Regions from separate parts of the Homo sapiens genome. Here region 1 is linked to region 2. Evidence: promoter capture Hi-C in 16 types of primary human blood cells and fetal thymus (Javierre and others, 2016). All regions are on one chromosome and are shown on one strand. Each heading gives the region's core, a stretch centred on a gene start or on the middle of the fragment in contact. The rest is flanking DNA. Distances are from core to core; before and after follow the strand shown. Region 1 holds the start of C3orf22 (chromosome 3 open reading frame 22). Region 2 holds the start of TXNRD3 (thioredoxin reductase 3).

What was found. The method cuts DNA at HindIII sites, captures the fragments that hold promoters and counts their contacts. A CHiCAGO score of 5 or more calls a contact.
Region 1: a contact is called between the fragment with the promoter of C3orf22 here and the fragment with the promoter of TXNRD3 in region 2, in 6 of 17 cell types (M0 macrophages, megakaryocytes, M2 macrophages and 3 more). The highest score is 11.4, in M0 macrophages.

The regions. Positions count from the first base shown.
Region 1 is chr3:126,557,519-126,560,218 of GRCh38, reverse strand. C3orf22 (chromosome 3 open reading frame 22) reads left to right here and starts at 1,287. Exons shown (of 4, transcript NM_152533.3): 1 at 1,287-1,592. LOC105374090 (a long non-coding RNA gene) reads right to left here and starts at 1,206. Exons shown (of 3, transcript XR_924455.2): 1 at 1,030-1,206. The HindIII fragment of the contact is 5,245 bases long and covers 1-2,700 here.
Region 2 is chr3:126,653,822-126,656,521 of GRCh38, reverse strand. TXNRD3 (thioredoxin reductase 3) reads left to right here and starts at 1,398. Exons shown (of 16, transcript NM_052883.3): 1 at 1,398-1,774. The coding sequence starts at 1,532. The HindIII fragment of the contact is 4,771 bases long and covers 1-2,432 here.

The DNA.
Region 1 (2,700 bases), core at 38-2,537, 96 kb after region 2:
AAAAAAAAAAAACCAACAAGACTGAATCAGGGAGAAATAGAAAATATGAATAGACTCATAACTAGTAAAGAGATTGAATCAGTAACGAAGAAAAGCCCTGGGCCACATGATATCACTCGTGAATTCTAACAAACACTTACTAAAGAACATACATAAATGTTTTTCAAAGTTTTTCTAAAAGTTGAAGAGGTGGGACCATTTCCTAACTCATTCTGTGAGGCCAGCATTGCCCTAATACCAAAGTCAGACAAAGACCCTACAAGAAAGGAAAACTAGGGGCCAATATCCCTTATGAATACACATGCAAAAATCCTCAATGAAATATTAGTAAATGAAATTCATCAGCATATTAAAAGTGTTACACACTATTAACAAGTAATATTTATCCCTAGAATGTAAGGATTATTTTTTCATAATGAAAATATCAATGTACTACACTACATTATTAGAATGAGGAGGAAAAGACATGATCATTTCAATTGATGTGGAAAACACGCTTGACAAAATTGAACACTCTTTCATGATAAAAACACTCAACTCCTTAACATGATAAAGGCAATATATCCAAAAATCCCACAGCCAACACCATACTGTATAGTGAAAAACTGGAAACTTTTTCTCTAAGATCAAGAAGGAGACAAGGATGCCCACCTTCCCCAGTTCTATTTAACACAGTACTGGAAGTTCTAGCCAGAGCAACTAAGCAAGAAAAGGAAATATAAAGCATTCGAATTGGAAAGGAAGAAGTGAAGTTACCTCCGTTCACAGATGGCATATAGAAAACCCTAAATAATCCATAAAAACCCTGTTAGCACTAATAAGTAAAAAGCCGTAGGGTATAGCAGACAGTGGCACAGGTGAACAGCACTAATAAGTGAAAAGTCGTAGGGTACAGTAGACAGTGGCACAGGTGAACGGCTGAACCACTTCCAGTTCAGCTCCTTCACTGCCTTCTCCTTCCTCAACCCCCTGCAACCTGGTGTCCACTCCTCCACAGAAACAGCTTTTCTGCAGCCTCAGTGTCTGTACCTATTTCTGGGCGTCTCTTCTGTATGCAGAACCTGAACAGGGAGAGGTCTCTGCTATGAAGAGTGCAGATGTGGATGCTTCTGTCTGGGTGCGTGGAGCTGAGAGGCTGGCCAGCCCTGGCCCATGTGCTGCTGACTTTGCAGTCACTCCCTGGGCCAGAGGGGCTTCAGGCTGGAGTCTGAGCCTCATGGGTCAGCAGCTGTGATGTCACCAATTGTGACCTCAAGGGCTTCTGACCTTGCAGTGAGCTTGTTGGCACTGCCTGTCCGGGGACCCTGGGGCTGCTGTTCCTGTGGTAATGTGGCAGCTGGGACCATGGCCAGCTTCAGTCTGCCTGGCGTCACATAAGCCAGCCCACAGGGTCCTGCAGCTTGTCCTTTCTGGCTGGAAGCTCTGGGCATAGCCTGGGACTGGGTCTTTCCAGAGAGGGCTGTAGCCAGGGCCCTGCCAGCCTCGGGGGCCACAGCGGCTCTCACACCAGCATCTTGCTGGATAGGAGCAGTTCCAGGACTCTCTGATCACACCTGATCATCGTCACTGCCAGAATTCAAGGTAGCTGCCTGGTGAGTGCTAGCAGCCTGTGTGGCTGGAAAGGACAGTCCCCAAGTCGGTTAGGGACTTGGGAAGCAGCAACAGGGTGGCGGAGAAGAGCCTGGGACAGGGTCATGATGGCAGAGGGCAGCCCTGGACTCTGCAGCAGCCCTGTCCCTGTGGGGCAGATTCAGCAGTCAGCTTACAGGGTCATCTCCATGACCTAGGGGTCAGGTGGGAGGGTATGGGGTGGGGCTGAGGGGCGCTCCTGTCTCCCTTGATCCCTCAATTCCTGTGGTAATGCTGCTTCCCCGGTTCAGGACTGTTTGAGGCTGCATGGCCCAGCAGGAGGAGCACAGGCCACCCATCCTGAACCTCTTCCCCGACTCACTGTGTGAATGCAGGCAAATCAGTTAACTTTCCGGAGCCTCAGTTTCCTCACTTGAATTATGGGGGTGAGCATAATACGTTCTCCATCAGGTAGAAAAAAAATGAAGTGAGGTTATGCATAGAATGTAGCAGACACTTAGAGGCCACAGGCACCATTCTGCAGCCTCCTGCTGTGGCCCTGCTGCCTGTCCCGGCCCAGGCTTCCCCTGCCCCGCACTCCTCAGGGTTGAGCCTGGGCTGGAGGTGACTCACCCAAGTGCACCTGACAGGAAGGGGCTGAGCTGGGGCCTGGCCCAGGCTGTGGCTGCAGGACTGTGGGCTTAGGCCCAGCGAAGGCATCCCAGAGTCCTCAGAACAGCCAGGGCTGCAGGGGCGGAGGCCACCAAGACCCCCTTTAGCCAGCACTGGTGTAGAGAGCTGCACCCTGTACTAGACTAGTGGGCAAGTCAGTGGGGAAGCCTGCCCTTCAGGGCCCAGGGACTTCTTGGTGCGGGCAAGGGACAGGTCGTGAGCAGGGCTGGCAGTATTTCTGGGCCAGGGCAAAGGCCCTCTGGATGGCTGATCTTCCAGAGTCAGAGATGGGGCACGGAGGCGGTGGGTGAGCGGGTGTGTTCTGGCTCACAGACAGGCTGGTCTCCCATGCCATGGCCATGGTCCCAGTGGCCTGTGTTCAGTGTCCAGTGTGCAGCCTCCCGCCTCGGGCCTTGAGTGATTCCACACTTGGCGGCAGGCAGCCTCCCAGCTAGCCCA
Region 2 (2,700 bases), core at 149-2,648:
TTGTGCCCTGACAGGTGGCAACTGCAGGGGAGAAGGGACCCTGTGGATATTTCTGAATGTCACTGGACCCATCAATGTCTGTTTCCTTCAGGCTGCCCATGTCAATGACCCATCAATGTTGTGTGATGGGCCAGGCTGTGCCATGCAAGAGTGTCATGGTCTGTGCCCCTGATTACTCCCCCTCACGGCTCAAAGAGGAGGACCCAAGCTAATGTGAAAATCACAGGCACTGTGATTGGGTGCTAGATGAAACTTCACGCAGGGACCCGGCCAGCCCTGCGACCTCCCTGAGGGCGACGGCTGGGGACATGGGTCATGTCCACAGATTAGTCTCAGGGAAAAGGAGGATGCACCTGACTTCAAGGCCCGTAGCTTCCACACACTCCCCCCTCATCCTGGACATGTGTCCTCACCTGAACAATGGCCCCATGACTGGTTGTGCCTCATGGGACCCAGGAGATGGAGAGACGCAGCCACACCTCATAGGAGCAGGGCGGCCAGCCTCATTCTCTGCCAAATCCGCAGCGCCCAGCACAGTATCTGGCACATGACAGGCACTCCAGCATCGCTGAGTGCACAGGTTAACAAAAAGCATAAAGTACCTACTAGGCTCCTTCCCCTGCTCTGGTTATTGCATGGGTTCCGCCTAGAGGACTTAACTGAAATGTAAAGAATTGTTGAGAAGAAGGAAACTCCAGGTTTTTGTTTTTGGTTTTGTTTTTTTTTTTTGAGACGGAGTCTCGCTCTGTTGCCCAGGCTGGAGTGCAGTGGCGCCATCTCGGCTCACTGCAAGCTCCGCCTCCCAGGTTCACGCCATTCTCCTGCCTCAGCCTCCCAAGTAGCTGGGACTACAGGCACCCGCCACCATGACCGGCTAACTCAGTCACTGCAGGCAAGTTCAGCTCCGAGGTCTTCCACTCATCCACCGAAATGGACAGAGGATTCCTCTTCTCGCGGTTTCAGAGTCCCTTTGTTAGGGGCGGCTCTGGAATTCTATGTAGAAGGGAACTGACGGGTAGCAACCTAGGAAACTCATTAAAGCTGCATTGCAATAGCAAACGCAATATATTTATTTAGCTTGTGTGATCTAAACTTTTAAAAATATCAATCTTTCCAATTCACACTTCCCATAAAAATTGAAGAACGTATATTTTAAGGTGGTTTAAAGGGGCTGTTGGGGATTATTAGGAGTAAAAGGCATTGCACAGAGGCCATCTCAGAGCGCCATCGCCAAGATTGGGTGGTCTCCGGACGCAGGCACAACCTGGAGATAAAGAGGCTCGCGCTTGGTACCCGCCCCTTTGCGAAGGGCAGGTGACACCTAGGCTGCGGGCGGGCGGGGGACCCAATTTCGCATGCGCGGGGCGGTGTTGGGGGGCGGGGCGAGCGGCTGCCTCGCGGATTCGCGCGGGTGGTGAGAGTGGCCAGCGAGGGCAGCGTTCGCCGCCCCTCAGGCCCCGTCCCGGCGCCGCAGCCGCCTGCGTTTCGGTTTGTGAGCAGGCCCGGCCGGGCCAGGAGCGAGAGCGAGACTCTGGAGCGGTCGCCGCCGCAGTCGCCCGGGCCGGGAAAGGCGGGCGATGCCCCCAACCGCCGCTCGGGCCATGTCCGAGGGGCGCGCGTGTTGTCGCCGCCGGGGCGCCGTGCCCGCCTGTCGTCCCCCGGGCCCAGCCGCTCGTCCGAGGCCCGCGAGGAGCTGCGCCGCCACCTCGTGGGCCTCATCGAGCGCAGCCGGGTGGTGATCTTCAGCAAGAGCTACTGTCCCCATAGTACTCGGGTAGGCGCGGCCCTCGCCGGTTCCACCGCGCGCGACCGGGCCCGCCACGCGGACGCCACCCGGGGCAGGGCGGGTCCGGGCCGGGGCGCCCGCGGGTCCCGGGCTGCGGCGGTGAGGTCAGCCGTCCGTCCTCTCCTCTCCCCGGTCGTCCCCTGAGGTGGGCTTGTGATAGTTTATCAAAACAGAAACTCTCCTAATTGCGTGACCTCGACCCGGGTTAGGACCCTGTGCAGAGCCTCAGTTCCCCCGTTTGTGAAACGAAGGTACGGGAAGGTTGTTAGGACGACTGAGGTAATTTCAGCTTCATGCACACTGCCTTAACTTTTCGGGGCGGACTAGGAATCCGGCATTATTTCTAAGGACAAATGTATTCTGTGTTTAAGAATACTTCACTTAGAAACGAGCCTTTGGGTGATAACCTACGTGTAAGGTACAGACTTTCAACGTTTAGGAATTTACTTCATTTTACAGAAAGTTGAAAAATGATACGTGGAAGACAGTATGCAAAAGCATAAACTATTGGGTTGAGTTCATGAAATTATAGGCTGTGTTTTTCAAATATATTTGAAGTTTACATTGATGTGTATAGTTTCTTAAAACATATATTATGCATATATATTTTTAAGAATAATAAAGTGACACTAGTACTGTAGAAGCTTCCTTGGCTGTCTCCTCCCTCCCTCAGGGTTAACCACTATGCAAAATTTCCTTTTTTTTTTTTTACATTTTTACCAAATATATATATTATTCATCAATATTTGGTTCCTTTTGGCCTGTTTTGGGACTTGATATAAATAGAACCATACATACATAGGTATTCTTCTGCAGTTTTCTTCCTCAACAGTTATGTTTCAGAGATTCATGCATGTTAGTATCTGTAGCTGGGGTTCATTAATTTTCGTTGCTGACTATTCCCTGGGATGAAT